2 separate regions of the Homo sapiens genome follow, and region 1 is linked to region 2. The links are contacts of gene promoters, found by promoter capture Hi-C in human tissues and cell types (Jung and others, 2019). All regions are on one chromosome and are shown on one strand. The core of a region is centred on a gene start or on the middle of the fragment in contact, and the rest is flanking DNA. Distances in the headings are between cores, read along the strand shown.

The links. The method cuts DNA at HindIII sites, captures the fragments that hold promoters and counts their contacts. A contact is called where the count stands out against the background at its distance.
Region 1: a fragment that was not itself captured here is called in contact with the fragment with the promoter of CBR1 in region 2 in 1 of the 25 tissues and cell types used here (hippocampus).

What each region holds. Positions count from the first base shown.
Region 1 is chr21:36,262,894-36,268,141 of GRCh38, reverse strand. It overlaps DOP1B (DOP1 leucine zipper like protein B), which reads right to left. Exons shown (of 37, transcript NM_001320714.2): 25 at 4,492-4,596; 26 at 4,328-4,394. Among named protein-coding and RNA genes, the nearest start is that of MORC3, 55 kb to the left of the region's middle. The HindIII fragment of the contact is 7,013 bases long and covers 1-5,248 here.
Region 2 is chr21:36,068,345-36,073,300 of GRCh38, reverse strand. It overlaps CBR1 (carbonyl reductase 1), which reads right to left and starts at 3,277. Exons shown (of 3, transcript NM_001757.4): 1 at 2,897-3,277; 2 at 2,244-2,351; 3 at 137-855. The coding sequence starts at 3,185. The coding sequence ends at 419. CBR1-AS1 (CBR1 antisense RNA 1) reads left to right here. Exons shown (of 4, transcript NR_040084.1): 4 at 2,816-3,659. RefSeq lists an enhancer at 2,972-3,221. The HindIII fragment of the contact is 9,879 bases long and covers 1-4,956 here.

The sequences.
Region 1 (5,248 bases), core at 2,131-4,630, 190 kb before region 2:
CCCTCAGGCTTACTAGAGTGGGGAAAAACTCCATCCTGGTAAATCTGTGGTCAGACCGGTTCTCTGCTCTCCAACGCTGTTTTCTGTTAAGATAAGATGTTTATCAAGACAATACGTGCACCGCTGAACATAGACCCTTATCAGTAGTTCTGCTTTTGCCCTTTGTCCTGTTCCCTCAAAAGTATGTGATCTTTGTTAGACCCTTATTATTAGTTCTGCTTTTTGCCCTTTGAAGCATGTGATCTCTGTACCTACTCCCTGTTCTTACACCCCCTCCCCTTTTGAAACCCTTAATAAAAACTTGCTGGTTTGAGGCTCAGGAGGGCATCACGGTCCTACTGATACGTGATGTCACCCCTGGTGGCCCAGCTGTAACATTCCTCTCTTTATACTGTGTCCCTTTATTTCTCAGCCGGCCGACACTTACGGAAAATAGAAAGAACCTACATTGAAATACTGGGGGTGAGTTCCCCCAATAACAGAGCAAGACTCCATCTCAAAAAAAAAAAAAAAAAAGTCTCACTGCAGCCTCGACCTCCTGGGCTCAAGCCATCCTTAGGCTCCCAGGTAGCTGGGACTACAGGTGCATGCCACCACATCTGGATAATTTTTAAATTTCTTGTAGAGATGGGGTCTCCCTATGTTGCCCAGGCTGCAGACTAGCCACACTTCAAGTGCTCAACAGCCACCTGTGGCTAACGGCTACTATACTGGCCAATGTAGGTAAAATATACAGAGAACACAAGTCATTGCAGCACGCTGATGAAAAAACCATAAATTGTATTCAGTGGATTGGCTTTCTGGTTTCTCTAGGACCACGGGTTCTTCCTAGAAATGCATCTTTCAATAATATACAAGAAATAAAGGTCAGTAAGTTAAACTGACTCAGTGGGGTGAAGTGAGGAGTCATCCACTCTCAGGAGTATGATCAGTAAAGAATCTGGTTAGTAGCTGGAGAGACAGAAACTCGAAGCAGGCTTCTCAGCCAGTGTCATCAAGTGTCACCAGCTACGAGTGGCTATAATCCTTGACATCCGAGAATTTTATAATCCTGACCTCAACTGTGCCACACGGTTCCTAGGCTCAGCAGTTGTGTTGAGGTGTGAAGCAGGGCACACCTGCCTGCTGGGTGAGAGAAGGGTGCGCTCGAGGGAAGTGGCGAATTGGCTAACTTAGGCAGGGCAGGGTGTGAAGGGCACAAGGAAAGTCAGGAAAAGGGATTAGGGGCTTAGAGGAGTTCCCGTAAGGACTGATGAAAGCACTGAGTGGACGGGTGTGATATTGTGGAAATGTTTTTGGCCTTTCTCCCCATTTCCCAGCTATAACTCCTAAATTCCTTGGATTCTCCAAAGTAATACGTGTCTTAGATGGTTGTGGCTGGGGGCCCCCAGAGAACTTCAGCTCCCCAACCTCCAGGAAGGGGAGAGGGGCTAAAGGTTAAATTGATCACCAATGACCAGTGATTTAATCCATCATGCCTATGTAATGAAGCTTCCACAAACCCCAAAGTAACTGGGTTCGGATGAGCTTCTGGATGGCTAAACATGTGGAGGTTCCTAGAGGGTGGTGCCCTAGGAGGGCATGGAAGCTCTGTGCCCCTTCCCACGTACCTTGCCTGATCATCGCTTCATCTGTATCCTTTCTAATCTCCTTTATAATAAACTGGTCAGCCGGGTGTGGTGGCTCATGCCTGTAATTCCAGCACTTTGGGAGGCTGAGGCGGCTGGATCACGAGGTCACGAGTTCGAGACCAGCCTGGCCAACATGGTGAAACCCCACCTCTACTAAAAATACAAAAATTAGCTGGCATTGTGGCGGGCACCTGTAATCCCAGCTACTCGGGAGGCTGAGGCAAGAGAATCGCTTGAACCTGGGAGGCGGAGGTTGCAGTGAGCTGAGATCGTGCCATTGCACTCCAGCTTGGGCAACAAGAGCAAGACTCTGTCTCAAAAAAATAAATAAATAAATAAAATAAACTGTTCAATGTGTTCCCTGAGTTCCATCAGCCACTCCAGCTAATTAACAGAACCCAAGGGGTGGGTAGTGAGAACCCCAGTTTAGAGCTGGTCTGTCAAAAGCACAGATGAAACCACTTGGGGCTTGTGATTGGCATCTGAGGGGGTGGGGCAGTCTTGTGGGACTGAGCCCTCAACCTGCAGGATCTCAAGCTATCTCTAGGTGGGGAATGCCAGAATTGAATGGAATTGGACGGTGCCTATCTAGTGTCCACTGCAGAACTACTAGCTTGGTTGCTGGTGGGAAGCAATTCCCACACATTTTGGTTACGAGGTCACAGAAGGATTCTATGTTACGAGAGTGTGGTAGGAAAATCACACTTTGTTTTTTTCTATATCCTCAGTGGGGAAGAAGCATAGGGTGTCGCTCAAAACAGTAGGAAGGAATTAGTGGCGGGGAGGCCAGGTGTCATGAGACAGAAAGAAGCAGATGCCACCTGGTCCCCGCAACCAAAAGGAGCAGAGAAGAGGCATGCCAGCTGCAACAACGGAGGGAATGCCTGTGGCCAGAGCCCTGTCCAGGCTGGCTGAAGACAGAGGGGCCTGCTACAGGCAACAGGCCACGAAAGCAGGGAGGGCTTAGGTGAGCAAGTGCTATCCCAGCACCTGGACGTGCAGCATCGGCATTGTAACGTTTTCTTCTCTGGCTACAAGTCAAGGCCAAAGGAGGAGGCACTGGAATTTTCTAATTATGCTTTATGGTGTTTTTGTTTTTTTGTTTTTTGTTTTTGAGACGAAGTTTCACGCTTGTTGCCCAGGCTGGAGTACGGTGGTGAGATCTCGGCTCACTGTAACCTCTGCCTCCCAGGTTCAAGCGATTCTCCTGCCTCAGCCTCCTGAGTAGCTGGGATTATAGGCATCCGCCACCAGGCATGGCTAATTTTTGTATTTTCAGTAGAGGTGGGGTTTCACCATGTTGGCCAGGCTGGTCTTGAACCCCTGACCTCAGGTGATCCGCCCACCTTGGCCTCCCAAAGTGCTGGGATTGCAGGCGTGAGCCACCGCACACGGCCTACTGCACTTTATACAGTACTCTTGTGGTTCAGAACTGTGGACCTGAGGCTGTTTCTGGATATACCTTTCACAAATGCCAGGGATCATAAAGATTAGCAGTAGTATCGCCAAGGCTATAAATGTGATAGAAAAGCCAACTGAATCAATGTCTATAATGGTTTGCAAAACAGTGATTTTTCCAACTTCATCATAACTTCCGTATTTATTAGTTGGCATTCCACTCTGAGTTTTCCTTCTCCTATGATGAGTTTTATTTTTCAGTATTAAACAAATTGTTATGAGCATATATTACTGTTATAATGGGGGATAAGGCGTTTAAGGAAAGAAATCCATGTATGGAGGCTGGGTGTGGTAGCTCACGTCTGTAATCCCAGCACTTTGGGAGGCCAAGGTAGGAGGATCACCTGAGGTCAGGAGTCTGAGACCAGACCAGCCAACATGGAGAAAGCCCGCCTCTACTAAAAATACAAAAAATTAGCCGGGCGTGGTGGCATGTCTGTAATCTCAGCTACTTGGGAGACTGAGGCAGAAGAATCGCTTGAACCCCAGAGGTGGAGGTTTCAGTGAGCTGAGACCGTGCCACTGCACTCTAGCCTGGGTGATGGAGTGAGATTCTGTCCAACCCCCTGGCCCAAAAAAAAAAAAAAGAAAAAAAGAAATATCCATGTATGGAGATAGCTTCCTTTTTTAAAAAATTTTTTTGAGACAGGATCTCTCTCTGTTGCCAGGCTGAAGTGCAGTGGTGTGATCACAGCTCACTACAGCCTCAACCTCCCAGGCTCAAGGGATCCTTAGCCTCCCAAGTAGCTGGGACTATAGGTGTAGCTATCACACTAGGCTAATTTTTGTACTTTTGTAGAGATGAGGTCTCACTATGTTACCCAGATTGGTCTCAAACTCCTGAGCTTAAGCAATCTGCCCGCCTCAGCCTCCCAAAGTACTGGGATTACAAGTATGCGCCACCGCGTCTGGGGGGAAATAAGATTTCTTATTCCATTTATGTTTTACAGTGAGATCCACATACATCTGCATACAGTGTGGAGGGTGAGGGGTGCAGCTGTCAATTCCACAATCGATTGCTCAAGCATTACACAAGAACCTTCATCAGAAAACCCGGGCCCCGGGACTGTCCGAACTCTCTAGAGACAGTGATGGCAGAAGTAAGACTTGAGAACAAGTGCAAAGCTAACCTCAGATTCTGTCCAATGTCTCTTGTCTACCTGCTATCTGATATCCCCCAAAGGAGGACAGCACTGCTGGGGTAATATCATTTGGCTGAACCTCTTTCATATACAAACCTGCAGGTCTTTTTGGTCCTTCTTGTTTTCCAGGTTGGGAGTTCTTGTTACAAAGTCATTCAGCATGCTGTTGGGAGACAATCAGCTTCAGATTAAAAATGCTGCAGAAATAAAATATGTGCCAAGAGAAAATATTACACAATGACAATGTGGTGACATGATACCTGAGAAGCAGAAAATACCCAGGTGGGGCTAGATTCAACTGTACAGACTCTTTCAATACTCCCAACAGTGAAGAAAAGTTCTCTTGCAAGGCTGGTACTGGGAGCCTGTTTTTTTAAAAGATAGGAAAAATACTCAACCACGAACAAGTCAAAATACATTTATTTATAAGCATATTTAAGATCCTGGCAGTTGGAAAGCAAAGGGTAAACAGCATACCTCACTGACCTTTTTCTTTTTAAAAACTTACAATGTACATGAGCTAAACTTTGGTATTCTGGCAAACACTTGGAGTTTGAGAACCTGAAATCCTACTGCTGGCAGGTGAGATACTCCTGGTTTCTTTGTCTCTAAAATAAAAGCCTTAAATTAGATGATCGACCTTGACCTCTCAGGCCTTTTTTTTTTTTTTTTTGGTGAGACGGAGATTTACTTTTGTTGCCCAGGCTGGAGTGCAATGGCGTGATCTCGGCTCACTGCATCCTTCGCCTCCCAGGTTCAAGCGATTCTCCTGCCTCAGCCTCCCGAATAGCTGGGATTACAGGCATGTGCCACCACGCTCGGCTAATTTTGTATTTTTAGTAGCGACGGGGTTTCACCGTGTTGCCCAGGCTGATCTCGAACTCCCGACCTCAGGTGATCCACCCGCCTCGGCCTCCCAAAGTGCTGGGATTACAGGCGTGAGCCACTGCGCCCGGCCTTTCTTCTATTTTATTTTATTTTATTTTATTTATTTATTTATTTATTTTATTATTGTTT
Region 2 (4,956 bases), core at 2,028-4,527:
ATATTGACTAACTGGCTCTTTCTTTACTTTCTGGGTTTGCTCACCCCCAAGTTGTACTGTCCCTTCCCTTGACCTTTTAGGTTGATTGTACTTGAGACAAAGCTTATTTAGCATCTAAACAATCTGTACAAATGGACACTTATAAAGAACCATTTATTCATCTGTTGATTTTCATTCATTATTTTCATCAATTACAATTTTTCCTCTCCTGCATCAGAGGAAATCACAAAAGACCTGACAGATTTACGTAGTCAACTGAGTGCGTAGGTTGCTCAATTAGTAGTACATTAGTGAGTGCTAATTGATAAGAGATCATTTTTTTTCTTATATAAGGATATTTATGACATTGTAAATGCCCTTTGGACCAACTCAGGACAAGGTACAAAATGGGGCCCATGGATGGAGCTGTGAGCCCAGCTCACCACTGTTCAACTCTCTTCTCTGAAACAAATTGTCCATGGGGACCCTCAGCATCTGGGGGCAAAAGGGCCAAGTACACAGGGGTCTCTGCACCTTCTTCTGGGCTCTTGGTGGCCTTGGGTCCCGCCATGTCAGTTCTCACCCACCCTGGGCAGCAGGCATTCAGGAGGATCTTGTCCCCTTTCCTCTGCTCACTCAGTTTCCTGGCGTGGATCCTGGACAGAACGGTGACGCCAATCTTCGTCACCCCGTATGCGCTGCTGGGCCAGCCCTCCTTCTGGTGCACTCCCTTCTTTGTATCCTCCACAAACTTGTTCATGAGCCCCACCAGCTCCTCCTCAGTGATGGTCTCACTGCGGAACTTCTGCTGCAGCTCTGGGCTGCAGCTTTTAAGGGCTCTGACGCTCATGATGCTAGATACGTTCACCACTCTCCCTAAGATACACCACAAAGCATTATGTAGAAAGGTGTGCAACAATCCCGTAGAGAGGTGAATGCCAAATTTGCAGGGATTTTGGAGCAGAAAATTTTCATATGAGAGACAGTTACTGGTATGAGTTCTAAGAGGAATACGCATAGAAAGTGTGGTGGTAGTTGCATGAAGAAGTTCATTCCTGCCTTCGAATTTTGGCTGAGTAGAGTCAGGTGAGATTTGGAAGAGCTGCCCTTTGAGGTCCTGGTGAACCAGAGCCTTAGAAGTAGCACAACTTAACAGGACGACAGGACAGGGAAACAGGATAAAAGCTGAGAGTAAGCTGTACATGCAAGTACCCAACTCGAAGCCACACATTTAAATTTTTCTAAAAGTGGCTGCTTAATTGCTGTGTTATTTAATGGGTGGGTTCATCTCCTGTCCCATTACTTAGGGTAACTATCACAGCAGTTTACAACCAAAGACATGTGATAGTCATGTCCAGCACCTTCAGCACGTTGAAGGGGAGTTAAAATGGGCCCAGAGTTAAGCAGCGGCAGATTATGGACATCTCTGTGAACCATGCTAAGGGCTTGGACTTTCCTCCTGAAGGATTTTGGGAGAGGCATGACCATGCAGACAGTACGCAGGATGCTGGGAAAGGAAAAGAGGAAAAGACTCAAGACCAGAGGTGCCTTGTGAGGGTTTGCAATTGTCCAGAGGGACAGGTGAGGGCCTGCTGTAGAGCTGCAATGAGACGGATTCAGGAGGAACTCAGTGGGCACAACTCCTAGGACCTAGTAAATGATTATGAGGGGTGGGGCATGGTGACCTGCAGGATCCTGGTGGGTGGGTGGTGGGGTCTGTGTCCCAAACGACTTAGGGAAAAGGATAGGGATCCTCTGGAAATATCTTAGATTGTGGGGAAAGGCATCAGGAAGAGATGGAAAGGCAGCAAGACAACCATGTGGTTGGGAGCTTAAGGAGTGTTTCAGACAGGTGACAGGTATTAGAAGGGCCTAATGAACTGGTGGTAGTAAAGCCTCCACCAGCCTGAATAAGATCTCTCTGAAAGAGCAGAGAAAGGGTACAGGATGGACTCCCACGCAGAGGGGAATGGAGCAAATAAAGAGCATCTCTCAGGAGACGTTTGAGCTAAGACCTGAAGGATGAGAGTCAGCCAGGTGTGCAAAGACCAGTGCGACAGGGAGGACGAATGGCCATGGGAGTGGGAGAAGTGAGGACAAAGTCCTGAGGCAAAATGGCACATATCAGCTGGCAGGAGAAAAAGCACAGAGGTCAGTGCACGTGCAGCATGGAGAGGAAGCAGGAGCCTGCAGGAGAAATCCCAGGCAAGCAGGGGCCAAATCAAGCCCCAAAGAGAAGGTGCGCTGTTTCCCATCAGACTCACCTTGGGGTTTTATTAGAGGGAGTAATTCTGTGCACACATCTCGGGTACCAAAGAAATTTGTTTTCATCGTCACTTCAGCTTGAATATGAAAGGGTGTGGGATCAGCAACTTTTAGGAGAGAAAGAGAACATAGTTAATACATTGTACCCATGGGGTAAAATTCTATACAATGATACTAAAAAAAAAAAAAAAAAAAAAAAAAAACTTAGTGCCCTCTGCCTAAAGTAAGTCTGTATCTGGTTACAGTATTGTGCCAATGTCAATCTCCTGGTTTGATCATGTTCTAGTATTTTTGTAAGATGGCACCATTGGGGGAAGGAGGATGAAGGGTGCACACACTGGATCTTGGCATAACCATTTTTTCTTTTTGCAATTTGTCGTTTATTTTAAAATCAGTTCAAAATCCATCCAGTTGCCTTAAAGCTCAATTCAGAAAAACTGCAGAAAACCTGAAAAAGATCCCCAAGAGTCCCAGCCAGGGAAACACAAAGTTCCCTTTGGCTGGAAAACTCTCACTTTCTCCAAGGTTTCTGCACTCCCTGCATCTCCTAGCTCCTCCCTCTCCTCCCTAGGGAGGCGTTATGGACCCCGCAGACGCCAGGAGCCCCAGTGCATCGGTTCTTCTTCGGGGAGGCCACGTCCCCTCCCCATACCCTTGAAGGCGATGCCCGCGTTGTTGACCAGCACGTCCAGGCCCCCGTACTCCTTGCGCAGGAAGTCGCGCAGGGCGCGGATGCTCTGCAGATCGTCGATGTCCAGCTGGTGGAAGCGCGGGCTCAGGCCCTCCGCCTGCAGCTGCTGTACGGCCGCCTGGCCCCGCGTCACGTCCCGCGCCGTGAGCACCACGTCCCCCGAGAACAGCCGGCACAGGTCGCGCACGATGGCCAAGCCGATGCCCTTGTTGCCTCCAGTCACCAGCGCTACATGGATGCCGGACGACATGGCTGAACGGGGCGCGCGGAACACCTGCGTGGAGAACAGACCTGGCTCAGGCCCGGGAGCCCCGCAGCGTGTTCCAGAGACTGCTCGAGTCTGGCGGTCGTGGGCGCGCACCCGTGGGTTACACGCCCGGCCGCTGAGCGCGCAGGCGCAGGCCCCGCCCTAGCGGGGCGGGGCTGAACCATCCCTACCCCTCCCCACCGGAACCTCGCCGGGGTGCGGAGCAGGCGGAGAGCCAGCTAGCCTGACTTTGCAGAACCCGCAGGCCGAAGACCGAGGCTGGTCTCTAGCTACTGGCTGTTGGCTGCCCACGTGGCAGTGAAGAACCATTCCTAGTGGCCATGTGCCTAGATCTGAACTCACTGCTTGCCCTTGGTTCTCTGAGGGGTTTTCTTCATATTCTCCCAGCTGTTCAATCATTCCTAGTTGTGTTTGAAGAAATAGTACATTTGCATGGTTTTTTTTTCTTTTTTTCCTGGTGTTCTAAAAAAAAAAATACTGCAGGAACTGCAGTCTTTGGAGCTAGAGTTGCAGAAGAAACTGGAAGGAAATAACAGGGCATCAAGTTTTTGTTGATTTTCCCCCTAAGTATATGAAAACAAAGCTACTGACTTAGCCAGATTTTCCAATAATGGTGGGAAACATTCACTAAATCTTTATAAGGTTACTTCTCTGGGCATTTGCAGGGCCATCAGTTTATCTGTGCATAGGTGTAGGGGGTTTCACAGCCCTATTTTACACGGACAATAACACTCTAGGATGTACCTTTTAATCCCCATCTTAAAATGAAGAAACAGGGATCCATCCTCAGAATTTATAACTTAGTTCAGTGGTGGGAAATTGTTAGAGAAATGCCAGGAGTTTGGTCTAGGTCTGGTGGTTCACAGCACAGAAAGCCAGTCACTGAGACCCCATTATTGTCAGGGAAGAAGGCATTATTTGGGTGCTACAGCCTAGGGGGGAGAGATCAGTCTCAAATCCATCTTCTCAACTGATTAAAATTAGGATATAGCAGGGAAGAAATGTAACTGCATGTGGGAAAATAGCAGGAGTTAGGGAGAGATGAAGAGGAGTGGGTCAACAGGCATCAGGCAATTGTTGCAGGTGAGGGGTCTGGTGTCTGATTTTCCAGATGTGGTGATCCGATAAGTTTCAGTTCCTTGGTGCTATCTGGGAGGACTGATGGCTAGTTCCCTGAGAAAGGAACTCAGATAAGACAAATGTAAATTTCTCAAGTTTTTAGACTGGGAGGGTCAATTTGTTTATTCAAAAGAGACCAGGCCTGGCGCGGTGGCTCACGCCTGTAATCTCAGCACTTTGGGAGGCTGAGGTGGGTGGATCATGAGGTCAGGAGTTCAAGACCAGCCTGGCCAAGATGGTGAAACCCCATCTCTACTAAAAAAAAAAAAAAAAAAAAAAAATACAAAAATTAGCTGGGTGTGGTGGCAGGCGCCTGTAATCCCAGCTACTTGGGAGGCTGAAGCAGAGAATTGCTTGCTTGAACCCCAGAGGCGGAGGTTGCAGCGAGCCGAGATCATGCCACTGCACTCCAGCCTGGGCAACAGAGTGACTCCCTCTCAAAAAAAAAAAAAAGGAAAAAAAAAGAGACCATAAACATCTGTCCTATGGGACAATTGCATGGTTTCAAAGTGAGTGTTCCTCCTTCCTACTTACAAGGGAATTGGGAATAAGGTCAAGTTTCATTTCTGTGCTGTCCCATAGGTTGCCACTATCACAGGTGGCCATTTAAACATAAATTCAAATTAAGCAAAAT